3 separate regions of the Homo sapiens genome follow, and all the other regions are linked to region 3. Evidence: promoter capture Hi-C in human tissues and cell types (Jung and others, 2019). All regions are on one chromosome and are shown on one strand. The core of a region is centred on a gene start or on the middle of the fragment in contact, and the rest is flanking DNA. Distances in the headings are between cores, read along the strand shown. Region 1 has its middle 11 kb from the start of C12orf76. Region 2 overlaps ANKRD13A (ankyrin repeat domain 13A). Region 3 holds the start of VPS29 (VPS29 retromer complex component).

Region 1 (2,971 bases), core at 248-2,747, 440 kb before region 3:
CATTGTTGAAACTTTTGAGTGTCTTCTAGATATCTCTTTATGTCCACACCTAGACACACAAACAGATATACTGATGTTACAAACGTGGCCACACTACAGGCTGCAGGCTGTTTTGTAACTTGCTATTTTTACTCAATAATATGTTATTAATTCTTTCTATGACAGTAAAGATATCTGTGATAAAGATAGATCTATGATACACAATCATTTTCAGTGGCTAAAGAGTATCCTAGTGATTGAATATATGAAACTGCCCATTTTGGCAGGTCATGGTGCCTCACGCCTGTAATCCCAGCACTTTGGGAGGCCAAGGCGGGCAGATCACTTGAGGCCAGGAGTTCAAGACCAGGCTGGCCAACATGGCGGAAACCCTGTCTCTACTAAAAATGCAAAAATTATCCAGTTGTGGTGGTGCATGCTTGTAATCCCAGCTACTTGGGAGGCTGAGGCAGGAGAATCACTTGAACCTGGAAGGCGGAGGTTGCAGTGAGCCGAGATCATGCCACTGCACTGCACTTCAGCCTGGGCAACAGAGTGAGACTCTCTCTCCAAAAAAAAGAAAAGAAAGAAAGAACTGCCCATTTTGTAGGCCATAGCTATAGAATACAGGCAGTTCCATATGGCTCAAGCTAAGAGGTACATTGTGATAATTTGCCAGTCAGTCTCTGGGATAGATATTTAACTGTAACTTTTGTTCAATTTTCCCAATTATAAACAATTTTTGGTAACCCTAATATGTCCTTACCATGTGCCAACCACTCTTCTAAGTCTATTTTGCTGACATATATTAACTTTTGCAATTCTTACTCCCCCCCACCAAAAAAATGAAAACAAAAACCAACTCTATAAGGAAGGTGCTAGTATTACCTCCACCTAATAGCCGAACAAACTGTGGTATGAATGAAGCGAGAAGCTTGTCCAAGGTCACATGGTAAACAGCAGCGCCAGCTCTGAACGCAGCCATCTGGCTCCACAGCCTCAGCTCTCTTAAATGCTATGGTAAATGGAATTATTTTTCCAATTTCCTTTTCAAATGTTCCTTGCTGGTGTAAAAAAAAATGCACACACACAATTAATTTTTGTGTGTTGATCTTGTTCCTTGCGACTTTACTGAATTGGTTAATTAGCTCTATCTAATAGTTTTCTTGTGAATTCTTCGGGATTCTCCATATATGGGATTGTGCCATCTGTGATTAAAGATAGTTTTACTTCATTCTTTGCCATCTGGATGCCTTTTATTGCTTTTCTTGTCTAATTGCTCTGGCTAGAACTTCCAGTACAATGTTGAACAGCAGCGGTGAAAGCGGGCATCCTCGTCCTGTTCCTGATCTCAGGAAGAATGCACTCAGGCTATGCTCCTAACAACTGTGCTCACTGTCTGTCCACCCCACATTCATGTTGCCAGAAATCCCTGCACAAGCTTCTTCACACACCTAAGGCATTAAGTCTATACAGGACTTCTGGGTCAAAGGGTGTGCACATTTTCTATCTGAGTTTATTTTCCTAAATCATAAATGCTTGAACCATTTCATGCTTCCATCACCAAAGCAAGAGTGTGTACACTGCCTCTTAAGAGGGGCTTGACAAACAAGCGGTGTGAACTTGGTTGAGACAGTTGAGGGTCTGGTCGCCAGGCTGAGAGCACATGGCCTGTAGGATGGAGGCTGTGAGTTTGAAGAAGAGGAGAGACATAGTAGCAGTGTGCAGCCATTTGAAGAGGGACACAAGGCAAAACTAAGCAAAGGTGAAAGTTACAGGGGGAAAGATTTTGGCTCATTTTCTCAGGAAGAAAAGTGACAGGGCAGTCCCAGAGCAGAACAAGCTTTCCTTGTGGTTACTGCTGGTGATGGTGAGGAAGATGATGAAGATAATTTTCATTTACCACATCAACTTCCCTTTCTCTCCTGTCCCCTTTCCATCTGCACTTAACATCATTTCTCTACTAAAAATACAAAATTAGCCAGGCATGGTGGCACATGCCTGTATTCCCAGCTACTCAGAAAGCTGAGGCAGGAGAATAGCTTGAACCCCAGAGGCGGAGGTTGCGGTGAGCCGAGATCACCCCATTACACTCCAGCCTGTGCAACAAGAGTGAAACTCTGTCTCCAAAATACCCCCTCTTCAATCCCACATTCTCTTACCACCACTCCATGCCTCTCTTCTTCATAGCCAAGTCCCCTGAAAGAGTGAGTCATCATATCCATTTCTGCATCTCCATTCACTCCTCCGCCCACTCCAGTCTGGCTCCCACCCCCATCCCTTCTCTAAAGCCTCTCTTGCCAAGTAAACAACAACGTCATTGTCACTAAATCCAATAGACACACCACATAGCTGATCTTCCTGGAACTCTCAGCACCAGTTGACACTGTGACCATGCCCCACCTCCCTCACCTCCTTCCCTTAGCTTGCAGGAATCCACCTTTGCCTGACTTTCATTGGATCTCTGTGGCTACTCCTTCTCAGAATCCTTTGGGGACTTCAGCACTCCCACCCCTTAAAGGTTAGCCCTTCTCCGGGGTCGGTTCTAGGCCCTCTTGCTTTCTCATCTACTTCTTCTCTTGCTGGTGAATTGCAGCTTCTTCCATGGTTCTAGTTCCCATCTATATGCTGGTGATATAGAAACCTACATCTCAGGCCAGGCGCAGTGGTTCATGCCTGAAATCCCAGCACTTTGGGAGGCTGAGGTGGGCGGATCACCTGAGGCCAGGAGTTCAAGACCAGCCTGCCCAACATGGTGAAACCCAATCTCTACTAAAAATACAAAATTAGCCAGGTGTGGTGGCGGGCACCTGTAATCCCAGCTACTCAGGAGGCTGAGACAGGAGAATCACTTGAGCCCGGGAGGCGGAGGATGCAGTGAGCTAAGATCGCACAACTGCCCTCATATCCCTTAGCTCATTGCAATAGAGGAAGAGTAATTCATGCAGAGCCAGCTCTGTGGGGGAGACCAGAGACTCTGACTCAAAAAAAA
Region 2 (2,744 bases), core at 227-2,726, 460 kb before region 3:
CCTGTCCCTGAAGGAGCAGCTAGGGGAACCTGAGGCTTGTTCTTGAAGTGGGCAAGCTGGCCAAAATATTGGAACACACAGAACCAAACCAGGTGTGTTCTACACCTGCATGAGTGAAGGATTTCCACGTAGACACCTAGGAAGAGCCCGCATGCCCTAGACTCACTCCAGAGGAAGGATTGATTTGCAACCAGAAAGGGAGCTGAAAACCACGGAGCTCCATGGCTCTTCATTCAAAAGGGAAAATAATGATTCCACGTTGCTTTTTAGAGTTCAAATCAACATCTTTCTGGATAAATCTATTTTTTAACAATCTTTTTATTATTTGTAAAAGATATAAAAACAACTCCCATCAGTAGCAATACAAGGTTATACATTTTAACCAGATTTTCTCAGGCCTTTTTTGGATACCTTTAGTAGTTAACTCTCTTTTGTCAAACCCTCTTGTATATAACCATCGCACAACATACAGAACCCTGGGGAATACAGCCAAGGGCACTGCTCACTGTGGCCCGTGTATTCATTCCCACAGGCTGCACTGAAATAACCTGGTAAACAACACCCTCCTCCATTTTGCGTCTATTTCTTCTATTGTGCTTCTTTGGGGATAGGAAGAGAAACATAACTACTGTTCCAGGTAACGTCTGTATCATACAGTTAGTGTTGCCAGTGAAACGTTCCCAGATACAAAGAATTGTGCTTTTAATTCCATTTCACAATCTGTTTTGTTTTTTTTTTTTGTCATTGTCTGACCAAAATTCCTTCTGCACATGAGGCCAGTATAGGCAACGTCACATTTGTTTGTTTCAAATATGCAGTGTGGTATTTTGTTTACTTTGCATTTACCGTGAGCAAAGATACTTCTTGGAATGGCTGCAGTGAGGCCGTGTCATTGGCTCACAAAAGTGACTCATAGGTAATTTCTGTGTTTGCATTCCACTGCTCTGCTCCCTAAGGTCCTTGACTTTCTCCCCAGGAATTCACTTAAAAAGGGACTGAGCATTGTGTCAACCTGTTGCAGTGTTTTTCATATATGTGTTCACTCTAAAAATGCAAATAAAGACTGCTTCCTTAGAGGGTGCTCATACAAAATTCCAGTCTTTGAGTCTTTTTCCTTTTCAGTTTTTTCTAGTCACTGGATGTACCCACACTTCCTGTTACGTATGTCAGTAGAACATTAGAATGCCTCACTTCGCTCAGTTCATCACTGCAAAGGTGGCATGCTCCTCCCAGCCTTCCTGCCCAGGTTAACAAGCCCCATGCTGCTTGTTTCAAATGGCAACTAAAAGCAAGCCAGTGTTGGGCTGTTCTGACACCTCTGTGGTCCTCCTGGAGGGGAACTGGCTCTTGTGGGGTAAGGGAAGCCCAGCCAACATCAAAGCTCTGCATCAATGCTATCCCTTGAAGCCAACTGCTTTGTGAGGCTGTTCCTAGAAGTCCAGATGATAAGGCTTCCAAACTCTTCCTATATCTAAATAAGCGGGTATTAAAAACAACAAAGGCAGTGGCCAGTAGAAATGTATGGGTTCCAGAAATGAGGCTGTATTTCTGGGAAGATGTAAAGGAGCTGCTTTGCTTTTAGGGGAAAGTAGATATCAATACTTTGAAGCCACAAGGACACTATGAAGAAAACCATTACTCTTTCAGGTCAAGAGGTGCAATGACTATGGATTATTTAAAAACTGAAAAGCTAAGCTTGAGTGGCCCAATATCAGCAGGAAGTGGTTTTTTTTTTTTGTTTGTTTGTTTTCCTGAGACGGAGTTTTGCTCTTGTTGCCCAGGCTGGAGTGCAATGGCGCGATCTTGGCTCACTGCAACCTCTGCCTCCCGGGTTCAAACGATTCTCCTGCCTCAGCCTCCCGAGTAGCTGGGATTACAGGCGTGTGCCACCATGCCTGGCTTATTTTTGTATTTTTAGTAGAGACGGGGTTTCACCATGTTGGCCAGGCTGGTCTCGAACTCCTGACCTCAGGTGATCCACCCGCCTCGGCCTCCCAAAGTGCTGAGACTACAGGCATGAGCCACCGCACTCGGCCAGAAACTTTAATTGAGCAACTTCTGCACGTTAGACACTGCTAGGAACTAAGTTCCTAAGGCACTCTGCTCTATAAACAAGCTTGTCACACTACATAAACGTGGCATGTCAAGGGATTGAAAGTCTGCTCTAAATAATGACAGGAAAGGGAAACTGCCATAACTGCCAGCTTGGTCGCAGTCTCCTGCTGACCACAAATGACATCAAGGAAGATGAACTGGATGTGGAGATTTCAAGTGATTCAGTGGTACAGTGAGTGATGAAGTTCAAAGTACCACCTAGGCCTCTGTTTAGAAATATGTGTAGGTTTAAGCCTGAGGTCCAGGTGGAAAAAAATACAACATGCTGATATGACTCCACAGTCACTAAATCATAGGCAGCACTAGGAGACTTTTATCTCAACTTTAGGCCAGGCGCAGTGGCTCACGCCTGTAATCCCAGCACTTTGGGAGGCCAAGGCAGGTGGATCACCTGAGGTCAGGAGTTTGAGACCAGCCTGGCCAACATGGTGAAACCCCATCTCTACTAAAAATACAAAAAAATTAGCCAGGCATGGTGGCTCATGCCTGTAATCCTGGCTACTCTGGAGGCTGAGGCAGGAGAATCGCTTGAACCCGGGAGGTGGAGGTTGCAGTGAGCCAACAATGCACCATTGCACTCTAGCCTGGGCAACAGGAACCAAACTCCGTCTCAAAAAAAGAAATTTCAC
Region 3 (2,742 bases), core at 86-2,585:
AGCAAGATTTATTGTGAAGAGCGAAAGAACAAAGCTTACACAGGGTGGAAGGGGACCCGAGTGGGTTGCCCCAAACAATTGACTTTTTAAGAGTCAAAGGCACCTTTGAAAATATGATTACAGGCCGGGCGCGGTGGCTCACGCCTGTAACCCCAGCACTTTGGGAGGCCGAGGCGGGTGGATCATCTGAGGTCGGGAGGTAGAGACCAGCCTGACCAACATGGTGAAACCCCGTCTCTACTAAAAATACAAAAATTTAGACGGGCTTGGTGGCGGGCGCCTGTAATCCCAGCTACTCGGGAGGCTGAGGCAGGAGCTGAGGCTTGAACCCGGGCGGCATTGCAGTGAGCCGAGATCGCGGCATTGCACTCCAGCCTGGGCGACAGAGCGAGACTCCATCTCAAAAAGAAAGAAAGAAAATATGATTACAGCTCTGAGTCCTCTCTAGTAGAGGCCCCCAGTTTTTATGTAGGAAGGTCTGAGGGGCACCAAACTACTGGGGGTGAAGGGGTGATTGCTTGAAGGTGGCTGGGGGAGACTAGGTAAGTCTCCAACACCGGCACTCTCCCCAGAAAAATGTGTATATTCACAAAAATTTCCCAACAGTTTCAATGAGTTCACACATCATTAAGGAATCCTACCCTAAAGAGGCGTAGCAACCCGTGGAAAGAAACAGTTCCAGCAATTGCAAGCGCCAAATCCCGCCCTCTGAGAGCACACCTGCTCATCTCAATGGCAGCTAGATGTTATTTCAGGAGCGAGGAGGGTGGTTTATTCCCTTTCCCTAGATGGCAAAGTTAAACGGGTACGAAATTCTGCTCGCTACTTCCTGTTCTGCATTCGAGAGGCCAGCTTCCACCACTACACCCCAACCAGCGGGAGGTGCTTTTTGCGGGAAACGAGTAGGAACCGTCTGGAAACGGAGGACCGTGCCCCTATCCCCGGAACATTCGAGGTATAGGACCAAAGGCCTTCCCTGGCTCGGGCGTGCGTGTCTCGTGACAGGTCGGGCTGCTAGAGGGGCCTTTTTACCCCTTGGATGGCCTCTGGCCCCTTGGGGCCGGGATACGAGACCTAGGCCAGCCGCACCCAGAGGTGGCCGCTCCCTTCCTTCCCTAGACCTCTTCTGGGCCTTTCCCAGGCCAGCGCCTGGGCCCTGACGCCGAGGCCTCCGGGATTTCCCAATTCCTCGCCCTCGGCCTCCCCACGGCTCCCAACAACGCAGCACCCCACCCGAGAGCCAGGCCTTGGTCGCCGCAACTGCAGCCCTCACCATCCTGTCACCGGGCTCCGCTCAGTCACCACCACCGTCGCCGCCCTCTTCCTCAGGCTCCTCGGCGACCCGCCCACTTAACCGCAACCAATGAGAGCAGAGGGAGACAGAAATTGCCGTACGGAGGCCCGCACGGACCCTTCTCCGCCGTAAAGCCGTTTGGGAACTTGTGGAGGCGGGGTGGTAGAGTGCAGAGACGAGATCGCGAAGCTTTGAAAAGCGCGGGCAACATCCGGGCACCTGGGCCGTCGAGCTGAGGCGCGCCTTCCGAGCCTGCTTTTTAGGGCGGATGGCAGCCATGCTGAAGTGCGTGATGAGCGGCAGTCAGGTGAAAGGTGGAGCGGCCTTTGTTGTCTTCCCATTTAGCAGAGAGAAAAGCAGACGTTAATAGGTCGTCCCTACCATTGTCTAATTTTTCCTCTTTGCCTTTTTGCGCAATGACTGAGGACGCACGCCCTGGCCACAGCCCCACCCACTCAAGTCCCTGTTAACTTCTGAGGGGAGGATGAGGACCCATCTCGTGTGACTTAGAGGCAGATGTAATATGGGTGGTATCCGGGAAATAGAGTTGTACCATCGGGCCACAAACTCGGGATGCTGAGGACTGCATGGGGAAGAGTTGAGAGAAAAAAATAATGCTTGGACAGTAAAAGTATTTTTGTGCCAAGAGAACAGCATTAACCTGGTTTTTTTTTTCCCCAGATTCTACCATTTTTAAAAATGTATGAACTTGGAAAAGTCACTAAATCTCTTTGGGGCTCAGTTTCTAAAACGGAAACAGGGGTAATGACAGCACCTTCGTCACAGAGTTTGTTTGGAGGCAATGAAATGGAAATGCGTGTAAAGAGCCCAGTAATAGATGGAATGTACAAGAACTATTAGTGTTGTAAACGGCGCTTTCAAAATGGAAGTTAGGCCGGGTGCAGTGGCTCACGCCTGTAATCCTAGCACTTTGGGAGGCCAAGGCGGGTGGATCACCTTAGGTCGGGAGTTCGAGACCACCCTGACCAACATGATGAAACCCCGTCTCTACTAAACATACAAAAATTAGCCGGGCTTAGTGGTGGGCGCCTGTAATCCCAAGCTACTTGGAAGGCTGAGGCGAGAGGATCGATTGAGCCCGGGAGGTTGAGGCTGCAGTGAGTTGAGCTCGTGCCACTGCACTCCAGCCTGAGTGTCAGAGTGAGACTCTGTCTCAAAAAAAATAAAAAATAAAAAGAACATTAACAATGTCGTACGGGATCAGACTAGTGTGTTTTCCAGCCCTAAATGTGTTCTGTGGTGGGGAAATCTGGCTGCCCTCAAACATCAGAGATGTATGTTGGATACCCCTAATTTCTCTCTCATGACTTGTTGTGACTTGGCTATCAAGCTATTAAAACCACTTCAGATTATCTTCTCCATGCACTGTTTTCACAGTTTTTGGGGGGTCAAATACATTTATCTAAATCAAGTTGTAAAATACATTA

Evidence for each region. The method cuts DNA at HindIII sites, captures the fragments that hold promoters and counts their contacts. A contact is called where the count stands out against the background at its distance.
Region 1: a fragment that was not itself captured here is called in contact with the fragment with the promoter of VPS29 in region 3 in 2 of the 25 tissues and cell types used here (dorsolateral prefrontal cortex and hippocampus).
Region 2: a fragment that was not itself captured here is called in contact with the fragment with the promoter of VPS29 in region 3 in 1 of the 25 tissues and cell types used here (dorsolateral prefrontal cortex).

What each region holds. Positions count from the first base shown.
Region 1 is chr12:110,058,121-110,061,091 of GRCh38, forward strand. It overlaps a transcript of C12orf76 not described here. Among named protein-coding and RNA genes, the nearest start is that of C12orf76, 11 kb to the left of the region's middle. The HindIII fragment of the contact is 4,989 bases long and covers 1-2,971 here.
Region 2 is chr12:110,038,341-110,041,084 of GRCh38, forward strand. It overlaps ANKRD13A (ankyrin repeat domain 13A), which reads left to right. Exons shown (of 15, transcript NM_033121.2): 15 at 1-1,423. Among named protein-coding and RNA genes, the nearest start is that of C12orf76, 8.8 kb to the right of the region's middle. The HindIII fragment of the contact is 4,630 bases long and covers 1-2,744 here.
Region 3 is chr12:110,500,776-110,503,517 of GRCh38, forward strand. It overlaps VPS29 (VPS29 retromer complex component), which reads right to left and starts at 1,336. Exons shown (of 4, transcript NM_016226.5): 1 at 1,274-1,336. The coding sequence starts at 1,276. It overlaps RAD9B (RAD9 checkpoint clamp component B), which reads left to right and starts at 1,556. Exons shown (of 11, transcript NM_001286535.2): 1 at 1,556-1,608. The coding sequence starts at 1,563. RefSeq lists an enhancer at 1,165-1,304. The HindIII fragment of the contact is 3,487 bases long and covers 1-2,381 here.